Linked DNA regions of Homo sapiens: region 2 is linked to region 1. Evidence: promoter capture Hi-C in 16 types of primary human blood cells and fetal thymus (Javierre and others, 2016). All regions are on one chromosome and are shown on one strand. Each heading gives the region's core, a stretch centred on a gene start or on the middle of the fragment in contact. The rest is flanking DNA. Distances are from core to core; before and after follow the strand shown. Region 1 holds the start of ASB14 (ankyrin repeat and SOCS box containing 14). Region 2 overlaps SLMAP (sarcolemma associated protein).

Region 1 (5,120 bases), core at 948-3,447:
ATATTCTCATTACGAATGTGGTTCAGTTATAACTATGAGAAACGTGACCTTAGTTTGGAAAGACTCTTAATATCTTATATCTGGCTTTTTGGGGATTGTATATAGTTTCTTTTCATGAATTGGTAAGAGTTGACATGTTTTTCTTATTATTTACCTGCTAAAAACAAATAGAAACGTCAGCTTCTTCTAATGTGTGGGTTTCTTGGATTAGAGCTCTAAGCAGTTGTATTTCTTCTTTTGAGTCTCCCCCACTACCTATACTGTATTTTATTCCTTCTTCCCTCCCTTCTCATTCTCCCCTCCCAAATCCTCTTGAGTTTTCTCATGCCTGCTAAGCGGTCAGAACTTTAAAGTCTATTCCTGTCTTCCACACCTAGAATCATGCACCATACGAAATACTTGCCTTGGGCTGGGCGCAGTGGCTCACGCCTGTAATCCCAGCACTTTGGGAGGCTGAGGCGGGCAGATCACGAGGTCAGGGGTTCAAGACCAGCCTGGCCAACATAGTGAAACCCCGTCTCTACTAAAAATACAAAAATTAGCAAGGCATGGTGGCAGGCACCTGTAGTCCCACCTACTCAGGAGGCTGAGACAAGAGAATCGCTTGAACCTGGGAGGCAGAGGTTGCAGTGAGCCGAGATTGTGCCACTGTACTCCAGCCTAGGTGACAGAGTGAGACTCAGTCTCCAAAAAAAAAAAAAAAAAGAAAAGAAAAGAAATACTTGCCTTGTTTCACAACCGTAATACTATATGTACTGTAAAAAAATATATATGCTGTAAAACCTTCATATATCACAATTATGATCTTAGATTTAGTTCTGGCCATTTTATTACAAGATAAATAGTTCTTTTCGTACCAATGGCTGTTTTTCCCTTTATCAAGTGAATATATTTCTTTTTTTTTTTCAAGCTCAAAAATCTCGGATTATAAAGTCGGATGCCTATGTCTGTCCCCTCTACAAGACAAGTGAACGTAAAGGAACTCTTTCCACTACGGGACATTCTACTAACTTTGTCATTGCAATGTTGTTAAAAACAGACCAACCTACTCGGCACTGGATCAAGCGCGGGGTTGCTTTGCTTTGTCAGTTGGATGACTAAATTGGACAAATTTATAAAACATCCAAAAGTTTAAAAAAAAAAAAACCTGTCCTACTTAAAATATATACATTATAAAACCAAGTGTTTTGGTGTTATTCTTTTAAATGATCTTTGCAAACACTCATTGCATTGTTCTCCTTTCTGAGGAGAACTTTTTGAAGTTTGATTGTATGTGAAAAATAGATTTGGGGGTTAAACGGTAACATTTAACAAATATCAGGAATTATCTCCTTCACAAATGTTAAGTCATTCCTTCAGCTTCAGTATAGTTTACTTTCCACTCTCCTACCTAAAGTAATTATACATAAATATTTCAAATACATAAATTAAGAAATTATAAATATGGAAAATATTAAAAGTTACCCAACTATACCTCTTTATTTCTTACCTCTAAGACATCGGTTCCATTTCTCACTGCATCCTTGTGACTAGGAAAGGAAACTCAAAGCTGCGAAGTTGGCCTGCAAAGGCAGTAGGATGGCTTGAGGGCAGTCCGAACTTCTACACCTGCAGTGACAGTGTGCTTCTCGGCATTTGCTTCATATTTAATTTGAAATGTCAAGTGGTCCCTTTGCTTTTTTTAGTGTATATTAACAATTTAAAAATATTTCAACAAAACAGAATTTTGATCAAAATTTTATCTTGTGTAGAGTGAATTCTTCCCTTAGGATTCCAAGGACACTGAAGGCCACAGTTCTGTAACCCAAGGAAAATGTAGTCACAGCTACCTAGTGAATCTAGTACATTGGGACAGTCACTTTGGATAATTGGGTCAGAGCAAAATGTTTGGGTTCTCTTAAGTGAAAAATTGATTGTGGTTTGCAGTGGCTATGTGCATGAATTCTCTTTGCATGGCCAACCCCCTGCAAAAGCATTTTATTCCAGGAATAAAATATTTAATCCTTTAAATTTGATGAATGTAGCACTGAAGAAAAGAGATCATGTTTCCAAAAAGAGCTAAACCACATGTAAAAAACAAGGAGAATGTGCCAAACTGTCTTATGATGAAGTATTTATAGTAAAGCTATTAATGGAATGGTCACTACAGGGGAGAGGAGAGCCTAAATATAAATGAAAATTCTGAGGCTTACATGTGTTAGTCCTTAACAGTGAAAACTTCACTGCTGTCCTAGAGGATAAAACAAAAGGTAAAAAGTCTTTGAAATGTGACCAAATGTATTCTATGCTAAAACTGACATTTTTCTTTTAAAACCATTTAGATATTGCCTAGTAAGATACATTTGTTTTTACTACTGCTGTATCCATGTTGTAATTATGAGAATACATTTGTTCCTATAACATGTTTATTTTTAATGTATATTAAGTAAAATATTATTTTCAGCATCACACTGTGTGTAGGAAAGATATTATTTTGGATGAGTGCTACAATCACTGTGAAAGACTCACAGCCAAGTTGAACAGATCAGAGTGTTGTCAGTGTTAGAGTGGCACTAACCGAAGTCTTATTTGAAAGGTGGTTTTTCCTGAATAAGCTTTAAGTCAATGGCTACTCATGGAAACTTCTAATTTTTGTTGAATCTGTGGCAGTCCACAAAACTTTTTTAAGTTTATAGAAATTTTTTAGTGAATATTTTGTTTCCTAAATTTTGTATATTTTTCATTGTTAATCCTACCAATTTTCTAGATTTCTGAATTTCATTTGTAATTTTAAGCAGTTGATCTCTTCACAACTGGAAAAATACTTTTAATTCACTCTGACTTTAAAGTAAACCTGTCCACGTTTCACATGGATAATTACACCAGCGATGAAGACATAGATGAAGACTTTGACACCCAGCTCATCATTCAACAGAGTTTGCAGGATATTTATAAGCCAGGAACAGCACAACATGCACCTAAGGATGAGAGGTAATGGTTTTCTCATCGGCAATATAGTATTAAGTGTTGTATTCAACAGCTGACACTTGTCATTAGCTTAACTCTAGTGTTGTGACAAAAACAGGAGGGTCAGAATCCAAGGAGCTGTCAATTAAATATCTGTAAGATATTATGCCTAACTAGACAGGAATAATCTGGAAATAATTCAGAATTTAATTAGGCAATAAAAATATCTGAAGGAGGTTAGCAGCAAATCTGGGTGAGGTGATACAGACTGGAAATCAGAAGAAAGAAAGGAGGATATGAAGGGCTAGAGAAAAACTAATACATCTTGTCTTTGGGAATTGAAGAAATGCATAAATCCAACCGGGACACATAGAAAGTTAGTTATCTTCAACCTTAGTAGGGTAGGTGGGGATGGGGTCCAGTCTTTGATCTACTCAAATCAAAAGGAGGAATTACATAAACTTGAACAAGGCTTCTGAAAGTGTAGATTCAGAGTTTTGTTGGACAACACTGAAAAAGGACCAGTGGGACCCTGTGTGGGGTGTAAGAAGAATCGTCCTGGATATGGCACACCTGCTCACACGCTCGCTGGCCAATCAGCAACCTTGGTCTCCTGAGGCAGTAACCATCATTTTTTCAGGGGTGATAACCCAGTTTACTTGGGATGGTAATCTCTATTTGCCTGCTGGATGTAAAACTAGAAAAATGTCTTTTAACCCCAAGAGATTTCATAACTAAATAGAGACAATGAAGTACATCAAACCTATATAGTATTTTTAAAATGTAACAAACCATGGAGTGATCACTATGTGTCATGTTATTTTAAGCACTTCATAAATACTAACTTTTAAATTCTAATTCTCATTACCTCTCTATGAGGTAGGTCCTATTATTATCCCTACTTAGAGAGGAGGAAAGTGAGGCACAGAAAAGTTAAGTGGCTTACCCAAGGTCACAGAACTAGTAAGTGAAGAGCAAGGCAGTCTGATTCTAAAGTCTGTGCTCTTAGCCACACACTATTCCTATACTTTTGTGTTCAATTTAGGATTAGTTTTTAAAATAATCTTTAAATATTTAAAGTTTTGTAAAGAAATTAGCCTTATTAGATTATCTGTTATATTAACCTTATGATTAAAACCTTAAATTGCATAATTGAGTAACTGACTTTGAACTTACAATTTTAGGTTGAAAGGTATAAGAGAGTTGGGCTAAGGAGAGTATTGAAATGTTTCAGAGAAACTGAAATTGACTGTGGTTATGCATTTACTTGATTAGATTTGCAGGAAGTGTATGATACTTAGGCAGGCTTGCTGATTTAGTCAGGTACTTGAAGGAATTAGAAAACTAGAACATACTTGTGACATGTGGAGTAATGGTCCCATCCAAAGATGTCCTAATTTCTGGAACCTTACATGGCAAAGGAGAAGTAAGGCTACAGATGGAATTATGGCTGCTAATCAGCTGACTTTTAGATAGGGGGTGTACTCTGGATTACCCAGGTGGTCCCAGTGTAACACAGGATCTTTAAGTGTGAAAGAGGGGGAGCCAGGAGAGACAACTTGGGAGATGGCAGTGTTAAAAGGACTAAGCCCAACAATGCTGGCTTTGAAGATGGAGGCAGAGAGTCCACCAGCCAAGAAATGTGGGTGGCTTCTAGAAGCTAGAAAAGGCAGAGATAGAGTCTCCCCAAGAGCCTCCAGAAGGAACAGAGCCCTGCTGACATCTTGATTTCAGTCCGGTGAGGACTGTTTTGGATTTCTGAACTACTAAACTGTAAGATAATAAATTTGTTTTATTATTGTTGTTTTAAGCCACTAAGTGTGTGGTTACTTCTTACAGCAGCTATAGAAAACTAACACAATACTAAATCTATGAATGCAGGTTTAAATGTTTAAGATAATGTAATTGACCAAATTGTAAACAGGACAGAGTGTCCGAGGGAATTTATTCTCCTCAACCTGGGTTCGTTAAATAATTAGAGTGGAAGGTGGCCGGGTGTGGTGGCTCATGCCTGTAATCCCCGCACTTTGGGAGGCCGAGGCGAGCAGATCACGAGGTCAGGAGATCGAGATCATCCTGGCTAACACAGTAAAACCCCATCTCTACTAAAAATACAAAAAATTAGCCGGCCGTGATGGTGGGCACCTGTAGTCCCAGCTACTCTGCAGTGAGCT
Region 2 (5,120 bases), core at 1,083-3,582, 500 kb before region 1:
CAGTGGTACAATCATAGCTCACTGTAACCTCCAACTCCTGGGCTCAAGTGATCCTTCTGCTTCAGCCTCCCATGTAGCTGGGACTATAGGCACATGCCACCATGCTCGACTAATTTAAAAAAAAAAATTATAGAGACGGGGGTCCTACTACATTGCCCAAGCTGGTCTCGAACTCCTGGCCTCAAGTGATCTCTCACCTCGGTCTCCCAAAGTGCTGAGATTACAGACATGAGCCACCATATCCAGCCCCTTGCCTTGAATTTTTAAAAAATTTTAGAGACATATTCTACATATAGTTGCATTTTTGACATTTTCACTGATATCATCCCAAGGCATTAAGTATTTTTGACAATGTGACTTAATGGTTATATGACATTTCATTAATTTATTTAACCATATGTCTACTGACTATATGTGGTTAATTTTATAATCAGTCTCTGTGATGAAACTGTTATACACACATCTTTATGTAACATCTCTGATAATGTTCTTAGATTAGGTCTCTAGAAATGACATTACTGTGACTTAAAGGGTATAATAATAGCTAATACTTATATGGTGACTGTTGCCAAATCGTTCTAAGTGCTTTGCAGATATTCTAAGTGCTTTATAGCTATATCCTAGCTAATCCTTGCAACAATCCTATGAGGGAGGAAACGAAGGTCCAGAGAGAACAAGTGACTTGTCCAAAATCAGCCAGGAAGTGACACAGCCACGATTCACACCCAGGTAGTCAGGCTCCACGATCCATGCTCTTAATTACCAGGCTAGACTATCCTAATTCCACACTCTTTCAACCACATCATGCAAAGTCTCCTGGAAGTTTATTACAAATACACAAAACAGCTGAGGGACTTTTATTTTACTAAACATCCCAGAAGACTCTACCGTTTGAAAACTACTATTCTGATCTTAACAACAACAAAAAAGAGCAGAACACTTAATAAAACTCCTCCCATAAAACCTTTGATAGTTATATTGGTGGATGTTTTAAATATAGAAGGGAGAGCCAAGTAAGAGAGTACTCAAAATGGTTAAAATACATGTTTATGGCCTTAAATTAGGCAATGGCTTCTTAGAAATGACACCAAAGGCACAAGTGACAACATGAATTTAAAATGTTTTAATTACTAAAAATTACTTATAAAAATAAAAATAGATAAATTGGACTTCATCAAAATTAAAAATATTTACACTTTAAAAGATACTATCAGGACAAATACTATATGATTCCACTTATTTGAAGCACCTAGAATAGGCAAAGTCCTAGAGACAGAAAGTAGAATAGAGGTTACTAGAGGCTGGGGGAGGGGGAAGGGAGAGTTATTATTTAATGGGTACAGTGTTTCTGTTTGGGATGATGAAAAAGTTCTGGAAATGGAGGTTATAGTTACACAACACTGTGAATGTACTTAATGCCACTGAAATGTACACTTAAAATTGTACAAATGGTACATTTTATGTTATGCATATTTTACCACAATCAACACCACCAAGACAACCCACAGAATGAGAGAAAATACTTACAAATCATTTATCTGATACAGGAATTATATCCTGAATATACAACTGATAATCCAATTTTTCTTTTCTTTTTTTCTTTTTCTGAGACGCAGTCTCTCTCTGTTGCCCAGGCTGGAGTGCAGTGGCGTGATCTCAGCTCACTGCAACCTCTGCCTGCCAGGCTCAAGCAATTCTCCTGCCTCAGCCTCCCAAATAGCTGGGACTACAGGTGTGCGCCACCATGCCCAGTTAATCTTTTGTATTTTTAGTAGAGACGGGGTTTCACGACGCTGGCCAGGCTGGTCTCAAACTCCTGAACTCGTGATCCGCCCGCCTCAGCTTCCCACAGTGCTGGGATTACAGGCGTGAGCCACCATGCACGGCCCCAATTTTTCAAAAGGATATAAATCAATATTTCTCCAAAAAAGATACATACAAATGTCTGATAAGGACATGAAATGATGCTCAATTATTAGTCATTAGATTATCAGATTATTAGTCATTAGAGAAATACAAATCAAAATCATTAGATACCATTTCCTACCCACCTGATGGCTACAAAAAAGACCAACATTAAGAAGTATTGACCAGGAAGTGGAGAAATTCCTGGTGGGAATGGTATAGGCACCTTGGAAAACATTTTGGCAGTTCCTCAAGATGTTAAACACGGAGTTACCATATTACCTAACAATTCAATTCCAAGGTATGTACCCAAGACAGCTGAACACAAATTCACACAAAAGCTTGTACACAAACTTTCATAGTGACATTATTCATAACAGCCGAAAGTAGAAAACAGAAACTCAAATGTCCATCAGCTGATTAATGGACAAATAAAATGTGGTAGCTATCTCTAGAATGGAATTTTATCCAGCAATGCAATACCTACATAAACTAGAACTTAGATGAAGCTTGAAAATGCTAAATGAAAGAAGCCAGACACAAAAGACCACATGTTGTATCATTCCATCGATATAAAATGTCCAGATAGGCAAATCTAGAGAGACAGAAAGCAGATTAGTGGTTGCCAGGGTCTGAAGGGAGGAGAAAATGGGGGGGTGACTGCTAATGAATACAAACTTTCTTTTGGGAGTGATGAAAATGTTCTAGAATTAGGTAGCGGTAATAGATGCGCAATTTTGTGAATATACTAAAGACCACTATAGTGTACACTTAAAAAGTAAAAACAAACTAAAATGGTTGAGAAATTCATAAAAAAACATAAATTTTGAAACGAAGTGCTTATAAGTGTTAATATAAGACTGTAAGTATGTGACTTTTGAAAGAGACTCAGGACAGTAAAAGCCAAAGGATAAAGACAAAGTCTTTGTGGTAACTACAGACCATGGAGACAAAGATAGAAATGCCAAAACTGTCAGAAAATTAAGAACCAGGAGAGTATAGCGTACGAACAGAATTTTGGAAAGTTCTATTAAAATGCACACTAAAGAAGTTAGGAAAGTGAGTTTCAGAATAGGGAGAAAATAAAAAGAACAGCCACCAAAACTAAATCACTGAATGACTCATCTAAAAAGTTTCCTGATGACTTTAGAAAACTGTTTTTTTGTTTTTAAGAAAGGGTCTCTCTCTCTCTGTTACCCAGGCTGGAATACAGTAACTCGAACACATCTCACGGCAGTCCTAACCTCTTGAGCTAAAATGATCCTCCCATCTCAGAGTCCTGAGTAGCTGGGGCTACAGGAATACACCATCACACCCAGCAGGATTTTTTTTTTTTTTTTTTTTAAGAAAGATAGTTCTCACTTTGTTGCCCAGGCTGATCTTGAACTTCTGGGCTGAAGTGATCCTCCCACCTCAACCTCCCAAAGTGTTGGGATTACAGGCATGAGTCACCGCACCAGCTTTAAAAAATAAGCGAAGGTTTACCCATCAGAAAAGAACAAGGTTAAGAAGGTACATATATTATCTAAATTCATAAAACTGAAGGAGATATGGGCAGATTTCACCAAATGCTAGTAGTTGAGGACAAAACTAAAATTTAACCAGAATACTCTGGAAATGTATGAAAGTATTGCTATTACACAGTAAATTAATAGGACAAATTAATTATGCTGGATTTGCTGCCAATATTTCAGAAGCACTCTCATTTGTTCTAAATAGGCTGAGGTAATGATGAAAGATAGATGATGGTATACTGAACACTAGAATGTCAGCTCCATACGGACAGAAACTTTTATCAATTATAGAATTGAGCTCAGCACACAAGAAGTATTCAGTGTTAGCTAAATGAATCAACAGCACTTTGAAATCTATAAAATATCATACATGTTTTAGAAATTCATATCTAGAAATGAAATGTTAATGAATTTAAAAAGTCATTGATATCTGAGATCTAAAACTAGAGTTTCAGGGAAGAAAAGAATTAACCTCAAAAACTGGAAGGACATAAGAAGCCTACAGGGTGTAGGGGTGTAAGCCTGTAGTCCTAACTACTTGGAGGCTGACATGGGAGGATCACTTGAGCTCAAGAGGATTTTTTGGGTTTTCTTATTGAGACAGGGTGTCACCTGGGCAGAGTGCAGTAGCATGATCTTGGCTCACTGCAACTTCGGCCTCCTGGACTCAAGTGATCCTCCCACTTCAGCCTCCCAAGTTGCTGGGACCACAGGTGCGCACCACAACGCTCAGCTGATTTTTGCAATTTTTTGGTAGAGATGGGGTTTTGCCATGTTGCCCAGGCTGGTCTCAACTCCTGAGCTCAAGCAATCCACCCCGCTTAGCCTCTCAAAGTGCTGGGATTACAGGTGTGAGTCACCGCACCCGGTCAAATCCAGGAGTTTGAGTTCAGCCTGGGAAACATAATGTAGCCCAGACTTTTTACATTTCTTTAAAAAAAATTAAAAAGCCCACATAACTTGCTTGTGTTGTCAAATGTTTAACATATTAATACATTTCCCATATTTTTTACTGTCAATATTATAAAAAATATAAATAAGTCCATACATTTCTAAAGAGTTAACGACTTAAATGGTACAAATACCTACACACTCAGAATTCATCATGGTCAATTTAAAGGAACACACAATATAGAATATAAAATCCCCTATAGATGAAGATATAATTTAAGTGAAACAGAATAGACAAAACCAATACTGAGGAGATCTAAAGAGAAAATATAAAACCTAACTGTTAAAACCTATTCAATACTAATTAAACTAAGAACGATAAACACAGAAGCAAATAAGACAGTCCCCTAACTTAAAATAATTCAGGCAAATGTGACAGCACATTAATTATGTGCTGTCACATTTGTCACTACTGTAGTTTTTTAACTATGTTTTTATTTAAAATTTAGGCAAGGATGATTTCTAACAATGACTGTTTCAGCTAATTTACTTATAAGTTTACTTGGAGAAGAAGATAGACATTGCTCTTACTTAAAGCATTTATATATAAAAAGTATAAATAGTAAAATCAATACCATCAAAATAAAGGTGTTTCATATAAAAATATCACTAAGAAGGTCGCATCTAAATATTTACTCAACACAATTATTACAAAATTTTGTTCTTCAAATCAAAGTGCTCTGTTGTTAAAGATAAATGTCACTAGTTAGCTTAATTCACATATTTTCTTTTTAAGTAAGATACTTACAG

Evidence for each region. Contacts are between HindIII fragments. The CHiCAGO score rates a contact against its expected background, and 5 or more counts as called.
Region 2: a contact is called between a fragment that was not itself captured here and the fragment with the promoter of ASB14 in region 1, in 1 of 17 cell types (total B cells). The highest score is 5.3, in total B cells.

What each region holds. Positions count from the first base shown.
Region 1 is chr3:57,289,762-57,294,881 of GRCh38, reverse strand. It overlaps ASB14 (ankyrin repeat and SOCS box containing 14), which reads left to right and starts at 2,197. Exons shown (of 11, transcript NM_001142733.3): 1 at 2,197-2,249; 2 at 2,778-2,970. The coding sequence starts at 2,849. It overlaps DNAH12 (dynein axonemal heavy chain 12), which reads left to right. Exons shown (of 74, transcript NM_001366028.2): 74 at 911-1,182. The coding sequence ends at 1,101. It overlaps LOC124909384 (a long non-coding RNA gene), which reads right to left and starts at 2,091. Exons shown (of 2, transcript XR_007095923.1): 1 at 1,490-2,091. The HindIII fragment of the contact is 5,614 bases long and covers 1-2,596 here.
Region 2 is chr3:57,792,026-57,797,145 of GRCh38, reverse strand. All of the region lies in intron 2 of SLMAP (sarcolemma associated protein), which reads right to left. Among named protein-coding and RNA genes, the nearest start is that of SLMAP, 38 kb to the right of the region's middle. The HindIII fragment of the contact is 168 bases long and covers 2,249-2,416 here.